2 separate regions of the Homo sapiens genome follow, and region 1 is linked to region 2. The links are contacts of gene promoters, found by promoter capture Hi-C in human tissues and cell types (Jung and others, 2019). All regions are on one chromosome and are shown on one strand. The core of a region is centred on a gene start or on the middle of the fragment in contact, and the rest is flanking DNA. Distances in the headings are between cores, read along the strand shown.

Evidence for each region. The method cuts DNA at HindIII sites, captures the fragments that hold promoters and counts their contacts. A contact is called where the count stands out against the background at its distance.
Region 1: a contact is called between a fragment that was not itself captured here and the fragment with the promoter of HEYL in region 2, in 2 of the 25 tissues and cell types used here (H1 embryonic stem cells and psoas muscle).

The regions. Positions count from the first base shown.
Region 1 is chr1:39,736,004-39,741,686 of GRCh38, forward strand. PPIE (peptidylprolyl isomerase E) reads left to right here and starts at 2,879. Exons shown (of 10, transcript NM_006112.4): 1 at 2,879-2,928; 2 at 4,162-4,260; 3 at 5,363-5,406. The coding sequence starts at 2,898. RefSeq lists an enhancer at 2,927-3,136. The HindIII fragment of the contact is 4,843 bases long and covers 1,348-5,683 here.
Region 2 is chr1:39,636,254-39,642,255 of GRCh38, forward strand. It overlaps HEYL (hes related family bHLH transcription factor with YRPW motif like), which reads right to left and starts at 3,390. Exons shown (of 5, transcript NM_014571.4): 1 at 3,293-3,390. The coding sequence starts at 3,372. RefSeq lists silencers at 3,167-3,236, 3,357-3,746. The HindIII fragment of the contact is 11,489 bases long and covers 1,175-6,002 here.

The DNA.
Region 1 (5,683 bases), core at 2,519-5,018, 100 kb after region 2:
CTCTGATGACCAACCCCCATCCTGAAGCGAGCTAGGGGTTCTACCTTGAGTCATCTGCTTAGCACAAACTTAGGTAGGGTCAAAATGGGCTCATTATGAATAACAAAAGACACAGCACTCAGGATATTCCAATGATTTTAGAAGCTCTGTGCCAGGAACTAGGACAAAGACCAAGTATCTATTTTTTATTATACCACACCACATAAAGGACGCCTGGTCAGATTCTTCCTGAGAGTGACCTTTTGTTTTGGAATAGTGACGGGTACACAAAGAGCTCTCCTAATCAGATCTCACAGCCTCATTCCTATAAGTATCAACTCCCTGGTTTGGCATGAGGTTGGTAAGGTCAGCTGTGTGCGCAGCCACTGCTTAGCTCTGGGAATACAATGGGTACAGGCCGTGGTGTCAAATACCTTCATCTACTGGGAGAGAGAGACATACCTGACTATAGTTATAGGGTGTATTCCAATTGACTTCTGAACTTGGGGACTATGGACTCTGTCTATAGGGGATTTGGGTGAGTGAAGCTTAACTAGGACCTCTGACAAGGACTGGTGGGTGCCTCCAGATGGAGAAAAGAAAGAACTCAATGAGCAAAAGCAGAGGCAAGGAAAAAGAGCCCATGGTAAGTAGGTGAGGAACTGATGTGGAGGTCAGGGTTGACTTGAGGTAGGCATGGACCCCTTGTCAAGGACCTTGTTAGCAGCATCAGTGATTTAGGTAGGGAGTTCTAGAGAATTTAGGTTTATTTTGAAGAAAGATAACCCTAGGCCGGGTGTAGTGGCTCACACTTGTAATCCCAGCACTTTGGGAGGCCGAGGCAGGAGGATCGCTTGAGTCCAGGAGTTTGAGACCAGCCTGGGCAACATGGCAAGACCCTGTCTCTAAAAAAAAAAAAAAAAAAAAAAAATTAGCTGGGCATGGTGACGTGCACCTGTACTCCCAGCTGCTACTCGGGAGGCTAAGGTGGGAGGATCATTTGAGGCTGGGAGGTTGAGGCTGCAGTGAACCATGATCATGTCACTGCCTTCCAGCCTGGGTAAGAGAGCAAGACCCTGTCTCAAAGAAAAAAAGAAAAAAAAAATCACCCTGGACAAGTGGATTGGAGGAACAGAGCCACTATCAACTCTTCCTTAGTCTACTACATTAACTTCCTGGTCTCCTGGGTTCCAATCAACCCATCCTGGGCCTAGTGTCAGAGCACTGTCTAAAATGATGTGAGCATGTAACTCTCCTGTTGTAACTTCAGCAGCTTCTCAAAGCTCCCAAATCTTCCAGAAGGCTTACAGCACCCTCATGATGTGGCCCTCTGCCTACCTTTCCCACCTGATATGCCCTCCACCCCACCATCCCAGGCTCTGGTCTTTTAGTTCCTTGAGTGTGCGGAAGCTGCCTCCTCCTCTCTCTGGCTCCTTTTCCTTCAGAATTCAGCTTAAATGTCACCTCAGGAAGGTCTTAACCCCCTGCTCCATATAAAATAGATGGTCCCATTATTTCCTACCACTATGTCAACCTGTAATTTATATATTAGTGGGTTTAGTCCAAGATGTTACTCTAAACTGCACCATTTTGTAAGCTCCCTGCTATTCTGCAGACCTTGGTCAAAGTGAAACATTTCACAGGGGTTTGGGCTGTGAGAAACATCCTGCCTAACCACCCGACCACAAGGCAGACAAAGGCCCAACTAAAGAAACATCCCTCTCATATCTTCCTGGGCAAAGGTCCAAGGGACACCATGATGACATCCCACTGGAACAAGGGCCAAACCGCCTCATCATGAGAACATCTTTATATCAATATCCTGCTAGGCAGCAACCCATACTGCCCAGACCCCTACCGCCCATACCTATAAATTGCCCAGTCTGTAAGCAGTGGTGGGCACTGGCATTAGGCTGGTTCCCCACTTCTGTAGGTTATTATGCTGGACATAAAGCCTGCGTTTGCTGTCGAGCCGCCCTCTTTCTGTGTGTGTGTGTGTGTGTGTGTGTGTCTTTCTTTAACCCTTGCCTTCTTTTCAAAACCTAACACGAGTAGACAAACGTTCTTTCTGAAGAGCCAGATTGTAAATATTATTGTAGGCTTTGCAGGCTATAGCTCTTCTGCCCTTGTAGTAGGAAAGCAGCCACAGTCATACTTAAAGGAATGAGCGTGGCTGTGTCCCCATAAAGCTTTCTTTACGGACACTGAAATTTTAATTTCACATAATTTTCATGTGCTAAGAAAATATACATATATATTTTGTGAGATGGTGTGTCGCTCTCGTCACCCTGGCTGGAGTGCAACGGCGCGATCTCTGCTCACTGCAACCTCCGCTACCTGGGTTCAAGCGATTCTCCAGCCTCAGCCTCCTGAGTAGCTGCGATTACAGGCGCCCGCTACCACGCCTGGCTAATTTTTGCATTTTTAGTAGAGACGGGGTTTCACCATGTTGGCCAGGCTGCTCTCGAACTCCTGACCTCAGGTGATCCGCCCGCCTCAGCCTCCCAAAGTGCTGGGGCTACAGGCATGAGCCACCACGCCCGGCCAAGAAAATATAGTTTTTTTATTTTTTCCAACTATTTCAAAAGGTAAAATTCATTCTTAGCTCCCAGGTTGTCCAAAAACAGACGCGCAGGATGGCCAAGCACCAGAGTTTATCGTTTGCCCATAATAATCGGGTTGATTCGGCCAAGGTTTCCCTCCCCCAACACGGTGCGCACTGGGAAGCGCGAGGACCACGTCCCTTGGTTTACCACTGCGCACCTCACAAGGCGCCCAGTGCATCCGGGTAGCGGGATGCCGGTTGGACCAACGCGAGGGTGGGCGGGGTCTAAGAGCTAAGCGTTGGGGGCGGGGCGGGACAGTGGGGAAGAGGACGGGTCGAGTGCTGGCTTCCGGCGGAAAAGCGCGCGAGCAAGATGGCCACCACCAAGCGCGTCTTGTACGTGGGTGAGCAGGAGGGGTTGCTAGGCGGAGTCTGAGTGAACGCGACCCCCAAGGGTCGGGGCGTGGGGTGGGACGCATCTCTGAACCAGGAGGACGGCGAGCTGCTGTCAAGGCCGGGTCTCTGGCGGTAGTGCTGGCGATAGCTCTGGCTGTGCTTAAACTCCTTCCAAGGTTTCCCACTGTCCTCAGGAAAAAGTGCAGACTTCTTAGCAGTACGCACTTCTCCAGCTTCTTTGCTTTGCTTCCCGATTCGCTGGGTCTCCCGAAAAATGACCCACTTGCCCCCAAGGTTCAGGTTATTTCACACCTTTGGGCCTCTGCTTTTGCGACTCCCTTGCAGTGAACAGCCTTGCCACACACCTCAGGTGCGTGAACCCGAGACGGAATGATTATTCTGACTTCCTAGCCCGCTGAGCTCCAGCGGGCCCCGAGGAGCGGTAAAGGAGTATTATGGCCCTTCGGATCCTCTCGTTCATTTGTTTTACAAACATTCAGTGCAGCGACGGCTCAGCCCCAGCCCCTGCCATAAAGGAAGGAGTTCCCAGACTAGCCAGAAAAAAAGTGGAATTACCTCAGTAGCACACTTTTGATAAGCGCTGTAGTGAGGATGGATCATGATAATATGGGCCTGGCTGCGGGACAAATGACCCATCCATCTGGAGAAGCGAGGGCAAATTCTGGATGCGGCGATGCCAGAGCTGATGAGCAGGAGTTAGCTACGTAACCGAAGCAGAGGCAAGGCCGTTCACTGCAAGGGAGTCGCAAAGGTGTGAAATAGCCTGACACTTGGGGGCAAGTGGGTCATTATTCGGGAGACCCAGGAAATTAGGAAGCAAAGCAAAAAAGCTGGAGAGGTGGGTACTGCTAAGGAGTTTGCACTTTATCCTGAGGACAGTGGGAAGCCTTTGAAGGAGTGTAAGCGAAAAGTTACGGGTTCAAATTTGCATTTTCCTAAGATCATTCTAGTTGGCTTTGTGGAGTTGATGGAATGGAGGCAGGGAGGTCAGTTGTGAAGCTATTGCAGTAATCCCAGGACTAGATGAGAGTCTGAAAGAAGGGCGAAGAGAGGAATATTTTTCATAAGTATGGGTGGGCAGAGATGAGAGGGGGATGTTTGTTTACCCAAAGAACTGAATGGAAGGGTCCTGTCCCCTGGCTAGCATGCTAACTGGGCTGCAAGGACTTCTGCAAGAGTATGGAGATCAGTGGCTCAGAAGGCCCTTGGCTTATTTGCAGGTGGACTGGCAGAGGAAGTGGACGACAAAGTTCTTCATGCTGCGTTCATTCCTTTTGGAGACATCACAGATATTCAGATTCCTCTGGATTATGAAACAGGTGAGTTAGTGTCTCTCACGTTCAGAATCCTCTTACTAGGAAAATACCTTAAAAAATTAAAGTCACATCACAATTCTAAATATGCATTCTAAATATGGTTAGTATACACTACAGGTAAGTTCAGGAAGGTGTCTGGTGACAGTGATCTCGATGGAGAAGGAATGTTCTGAGGCCATGTGGTTGTGAACTCTGAATACTTTCCAGAGTCTTCAGCTGTTGGGTTGAGATAAGACAGATTTTTCAATAGACCAGTAGGGAGATAGGTTTGAACTACATTGAGATTTGAATGTTGTTTTAATCTACCTGATGGGTACCCCATCCCACCTGCACCTTCTTGCAGCTGTGCTATTAAATGAGGCAGCGGGAAAGCCTAGCCCCATAATGGGGGTGGGTGAGGGCGGGGGTTCTTGGCCTCTGCACCCCTGGGTGGGTTTCCCATCGATTGGTATCACAACCACAGTTCAGTTTTCTGTTTACCTTTGTTGTCATTTTTAAGATTATAGTTTTAGGCCTAGTTTTATCATCAACCTTGCATATGATTGTTAGCAAAGTCTTTAAACTCTCTGGGCCTGGGAAATCTTTATTTGCAAAATGATAAGGTTATGTTGGCTTTCTAAGGGCCTTCTAGTCTCTGAGTTCTATGATAAACATTATTGTGCTTGGTCTTTCTAGTTAGTTCAGCATTTTCCTGAAGATAAAGACTGAGCATCTTTATCAGGTTTTAGGATTCATGCTTTATGCACAGTTGATGCGCAAAATATATATTTAGATAGATAATTGATAGGTCAAATGACTTTATTTTTCTAATTGCTTTGCATGCAATGGTTAAGGTTTTAAGTTTGGCTTTCGTAGAATAATTGAATACTTATCAATTAAAAATACAGTTTACTATTCAGCTATGTCCATTAAAAAAACAAAGTTTATTATTGCTTAAAATATTGTATAAGAAGAATCAAGAATGAGATTCCTTCTTCCTAAATAGTGATTGGATAGAACTTCTGGTGTTTGGATACGACATGTAACTGACTTCACTTTGTGACCATCCTGTTTCTTCCCACTACCCCACATAGTAATTACTTGTTTTTGTTTTTCCATTTTGTAGAAAAGCACCGAGGATTTGCTTTTGTTGAATTTGAGTTGGCAGAGGTGAGAGTCTGTGTTACTAGTGTCTAGTCCTTGGTTTGTGATGTTGTTACTGATTACAAAGGAAGCTTTTCACCATTTGGTTAGGTTTTTGGGCCTTAGGCTGATGCTTCCAGAGAGATCAGAAGTAAGTGCTGTTCTAAGGAAAGCGTCTCTCACATAATCAGACTGGACTGTGAATAACATGTCAGACCTGCCAGGCCCTCCCATTCTTGCCCTGCAGAGGAGCTAGCTCATGCACCCCTGTTCATTGAGCATTCTTGCCTGGAAGTAGTGATTA
Region 2 (6,002 bases), core at 2,140-4,639:
GTAGCTTTTTTTTTTTTTTCTTTTCTTTTTTGAGACAGAGTCTTACTCTGTCACCCAGGCTGGAGTGCAGTGGCACAATCTCAGCTCACTGCAACCTCCGCCTCCCAGGTTCAAGTGATTCTCCTGTCTCAGCCTTCCAAGTAACTGGGACTACAGGCACGTGTCACCATGCCCAGCTAATTTTTTGTATTTTTAGTAGAGATGGGGTTTCACCATATTAGCCAGGATGGTCTCGATCTCTTGACCTCGTGATCCACCCACCTCAGCCTCCCAAAGTGCTGGGATTACAGGCGTGAGCCACCGTGCCCGGCCTCTAGTGGCTTTTAATCTGGGGCTTTTGCCAGTGCACCCCATATATACATCATCCCGTCATGTAGATCTCAGAGCCAGTGCTTTTTGTTCTATACTGCACTTCCACATCCATTTGTCTAATTTATTGCACAATAGCACTGTAAGTGAAGTATTTTTTGGGCCATTTCACATTTAGGAAAAATAATCATTTTACAGGTGGAGTGACAGAGACACTGGAGTTAAGAATCACTCCAGTAAGTCCAGTCTTCACACTTCCGGTCTTTTCATTAGACCATGCTGTCTCATAAATATGTTGCCCCCCAACTGAATGGTGACCGCTTTGACAGCAACGTTTATTGGAAGTTACTTTGTGCCAAAGCAGGGAGCTATGTAACTTTATGTATGTTACTTCATCAAACCTTATCCTGCGAGGCAGGAGTGCTAATGTATTCCCATTTTGAACGCGAGAAAACTGAGGTTCAGAAAGGGGTAAAAGTCACTGGCCAAAGTTAATGGTGGTAAAATTCAAACTCAGGTCTATCTGACTCCAAGACCACCACCTTATATTGTGCAGGAACAGGACCCTGATCCAGTGTCTGACATGTGGCAGGTGCTCATTAGATGTTTGCAGAGGGAGAGGAGAGGCTGTACTCTCAGTTTGGACTCATCCTGCGTCATGGGGCCAGGTTGAGATGAGAGCTCTGTGGGTGAGTTTCACAGATGTGGCAGGACTGCCACCAGGCAGATGCCACAGTGATGGTGGAACACACCCTGCTCTTTACTCTCACGTTTCTGAGTGTGGGGGTTTTGCGCCCTGCCCCTGACCCCGAGAGGCTGGCTGCCTCCGTCCTGCGGCCTTTGTCAGTGTTTATCTGCTTTCTTTGTACATGAAGCTCTTCTTCCCTGAGAGTTCCCTGAGGGCAGAGGCTGAGCAGGATACATCTGGGCCCCCTATGCCCAGCCCAGGGTCTGGGCCACAGCAGGCATCGTTCAGTGCTCCCTGAATTGAAGCATTGATGTCTGCTGGGGGAAGGGCCCTTTGGTGAGTGCTACAAAGGGGCATCTATAAGTCAGCCTCTGCCAGATGTCCAGCTGCTTTCTCTCCTCAGAGGGGTCTGCTCCTCTAAGAACAGTGTCTAAAAATGGGCTCTGTATATATAGGAAATGCTGTATGTATAGGAAAAAACTGCCCACTGATCCTTTATGCCTCATGTAAGCAGTTGCCCAGATGCTACTATCTTCAAGAAGCCCTCCTTGCCATCTTTGATTAAGAGTGACCTCTCTTTGCTTAAGTGCCCTCACAGCCCACAGTCTGTCTCCTTTCCATCCTGTCCATGGTGTTTTTATGACCTGGCAGGTCACTGACTGGGCTGCAAACTTGTGGAGGACAGAAGCCAGCTCTGATCAACCTAGTTCTCTGGCATCAATTTTGTGCCTCTGATCTATGAAGACCCAATGCCATTGAATTTGAGACCCCGCTCCACCACCACCACGTGGTGCTGTGCCCTTTCCTGGCCCTTAACAGGCACAGGCTAAGATAACTGCTTTTCTAAATAGCAGTTTCTGCTAAACAATTAAGAAAGGCTAATACGTTGCATAGCGAGTTGTGTTATACTCCCTAAAAACAAATGTACAGGCTGCAAGAGGAATATCTATTATGGCATTTTCCTGGGATTTGAGACTGAGGCAGGATCCTTGGATCTCAGAAAACTGGAGAGCACTAAAATTACAAAATGTCCTCAAAAACATCCCTAAGAATTAACTGGGCCTGGCTCACTGGCTTATGTCTGTAATCCCAACACTTTGGGAGGCCAAGGCAGGAGGATCACTTAAGCCCAGGAGATCAAGGTTGCCATGAGCTATGATCATGCCACTGCACTCCAGCATGGGCAACAGAGTGAGACCATGTCAAAAAGAAAGAAAGAAAGAATTAACTGAATTCCCCTCCAATTCTGTTCTAGAGAGTCAAGTCTAGATGAGCCAAGAGAGATGAAGTATATCCCTTTCTTTTCCACTGCTGTCTTTGTTTTACTGATGGGGAAACTGATGACAGACTCTGTCAGGGAAACCAATGGCCCAAGACCACATAGTGAGTTGGTGGCAGATTTGGGGCTGGGACCCAGGTCTGCAGACTCCCAGTCAGCCCTGCAGCTCTTTCAGGGTGCTGGGAATCACATGGTGTGTACCTAGGCATGTGCTGTGCTAAGCCCTTGACATACTTTGCCTCATTTGGTTTTCCCAATATTTCCATGAAGTTGGTTCTATTATTCATGCTCATTTAACAGATAAGGAAACTGAAGCTTAGACAGTTTACAGAACTGCGAGGTAGCAGAACTATACAAGCGCAGTTTGTTCGACAGGTTTGAAGCAGGTCAGACTATCTACCAGGAGCTGAAAGACACTGGCAGTATGGGGGCACGATAGGAGGAACATTGGAATTAGAGTCTAGGCCCTTGCAAGTCGCTTATTATTTTCTTCAATACTAAGTCCCTAAATCCAAACTCCAATTTGCTCAAAGGAGGACAAATTTTCTTCTTCCTGAAATAATTTGTGGACTACATGAAAACTGCATCCAAACTAGGGTAAAATTGGGAAAGGATGGGGTTACTCTGCATCGTCAGCAGATTCCAGACAGGGGCCAGAGTACCATCAGTCTATGAGAGTTTTCTAAGATCTCCAGGGAAAACCTGCCAATGGCCTCCCCTAGGCCACTTCAACAGATAGATGATAACCCACTAGCCACCTGATCCCCCGAGCTGAACTCTCCCTCCCTGCCAGCATCCCCAGCCCTGCACGACCGAGAGCGCGCAGGATCCAGGCACTCGTGCGTGTAACGGCACGGCCCGCACACGCCCCCTACGCCGACACCTGTGGCCCCCGCGCTCACCTGCCTCTGCCCAGGCGGTGCTGGAGGGCTGGCCCGCCTGCTCGGCGAGCCCGTCGGGCCGACCCCCACCCCGCTCGCCCTCCGCCTGCTCGGTCCCCGCATCCCGGCCCTTACCTCAGCTGGCCCTCTTGGCCCACGTCGATGGGTCCGTCGGACTCCCCGTCGGAGCCGCTCGGCTCCTTGGGTCGCTTCATGGCGAACGCAGGCTGCCTGGTCTCAGCCCCGCGGCTAAGGCTCCCAGTCGGGAAGTCAGGCCCCGCCCCGGCCCCGCCCCGGCCCCGCCTCGGGGGCGCCGCCACCGCCCTTTCCCAGGGCCCTTTCCTGCGCCGCAGCTCCGGGCGCCCAGGCGCCCCCTCGCCCCCGCGGTGACGCGCCGCCGAGCCGTGGGAAGGCCCTAGGCGGTCGCCGCCTTCATCGACGGCTGGGAGGTCCGGCTCTGCTCCGCTGTCTCGGCTGCCGCGCGCTGGGTGGCCTTGGGCAGGTGCCCTGGGAGGCCCCGCGGGGAAGCCAGGAGTCCCCGTCTGTCCCTGGGTCGCCTGGGCGCTGCTGGCCTGTAGAGGCGCCGCTTCGATGCCCGGGATTCCGCAAGGGTCAACCCTGCGCGCTCCTGCCTCCTGGTGTTCTGGAGGCAGCAGACACATCAAGTTTGTCGAAGTTAGTCGTGGTGGTTGTGGCCTGATCCTCAGCAAGAATTCCCCAGCAGCAACTCCATAGGGGCCCAAAGCAAGTGGAATAGTGTGGTGGGGGCAAGGGGAAGACACTTACACTTCTGAGAGGTGGCAGTCACCCCCAAAAGGGACGGCTGAAGTTGTGGCCACCGCATCTGAGAAAGCTGGGCTCTGGCCGAGGTCCCTAAAGGCCTGGCGTGGTGGCAGTGGTGGGTTGTCCCTGGGAATCAGTTCCCAGTTCACCAGAGGTCGAGTTGTCCTGGGCGGCCAGGAGGCCAGGAAAGGGCTCCTTCTAGACGCTATGGCAGGGCCTCAAAGTGGGAGAAGGAGAGGAAAAGGGAAGATACCTTCCAGCCTCTCTTCCTGGGGCCTCTGCTTCTGGCAACCCATCAAACTGTTCACTCAGGGAGGGCTCTAGCTGCCCTGTCCTTAGGGGGACTTGTGGGAAGTTCTCAGATTCACCGGTCATCCTCAGGCGCCCAGTACCTCAGAGAAGCTCCTAAGGCTCCAAAGGAAGCTGCATGAGAGCATCCTGGAGCTGGACTTCTTGGGCAGGGAAGAGGAGATAGAGGAGGTCTTGGTGTGCTGGGTTAGATATGAGAGGTCTTTTCCTTTTTACCCGCCACCAGGTCAGGACCTGAGGGAAGCCACCCCTTCAAGTGGGAGAATCGGGTTGGTCATCTGAGAATAACTGTGCTTCCATCCCCACAGCAAGGCCTGCTTGCTGGGGGACACTTGATTACTTGATGGGAAAGAATGTTCCTGTGCCCCCGTCCACACACATCCACAGACACAACCATTTGGCCAGGTATGCAAACACATACACACGGACAGACTTACAAATATATACTGGTAGGCGCAACTGTCGTGAGCAATCAGTACCAGGAAGCCCTGGTGGTCGCCCCAGCCACAACTATGGACTCTCATTCCAAATGCCCTCAGCACTCACATCACTTCTGTGGGCACATGCCAGTCAGTGGAAACCTCAACTAACAGAGAAGTTGCACAATGTGTTATGCATTCCCTGGAAAGGCGGAAGTCAAGGAAGCCTCCCAGATAGCTGCCCTGTGTAATTGGCTGAGATAGCAAAGATTGGAAGAGGAGCAGATTTGCAGGGGAAGGTCAAGGGCCCCGTGATGGACGTTTCATGTGAGATGTCTTGGATCATCAAAATACAGTGCACAGTTAAATAGAGGGTATGGAGTTCAGAACAGAGGTCTCAGCTGGATATTAAATTTGGACGTCATTAGGTAATTGATGGCATTTAAAGCTATGGGAGCAGATGGGATCATTCAGAAAACGTGGATGGAGACAGAGCAGGGGCCTAGCTAAATACTTAACATTTGGTGAGCCCTTATTATAAAACCTGAAACTATTCTAAGTCTTTTGTAAATATTAACTCATTTAATCCTTGACAACCCTATAAAGTAGTAATATTATAATCCCCACTTTACAAGTGAGAAACAAAGGCTGAGAGGTAGACTAACTCCACCTAAGGCCAACAGGCAATAAATGGAAGGGCTGGAATTCAACAAGGCAGTTCAGTTCCAGAGCCAAAACATTAGGCTTTATTACTTTATACAGTACTCCCCCTTCTTTTAAAAATAAAGACAAGGATTCACTCTGTCACCAGGCTAGAGTGTAGTGGTGCCATCGTAGCTCACTGAAACCTTGAACTCCTTGGCTCAAGTGATCCTCCCACCTCAGCCTCCTGAATAGCTCAGACTACAGGGGCATACCACCATGCTCAGCTAATTAAAAAAACAACATTTTGCCAGGTGTGGTGGCTCACGCCTGTAATCTCAGCACTTTGGGAGGCTGAGGCAGGCGGATCACAAGGTCAGGAGATCGAGACCATCCTGCCTAACACGGTGAAACCCCATCTCTACTAAAAAATACAAAAAATTAGCCAGGCGTGGTGGCAGGCACCTGTAGTCCCACCTACTCGGGAGGCTGAGTCAGGAGAATGGCGTGAACCCGGGAGGCGGAGCTTGCAGTGAGCCAAGATGGCGCCACTGCACTCCAGCCTGGGCGACAGAGTAAGACTCCGTCTCAAAAAAAAAAAAAAAAAAAAAAAAATTTTTTTTGGTAGAGATGAGATCTCACTATGTTGCCCGGGCTGGTCTTCAACTCCTGGGGCCAAGCAATCTTCCCAC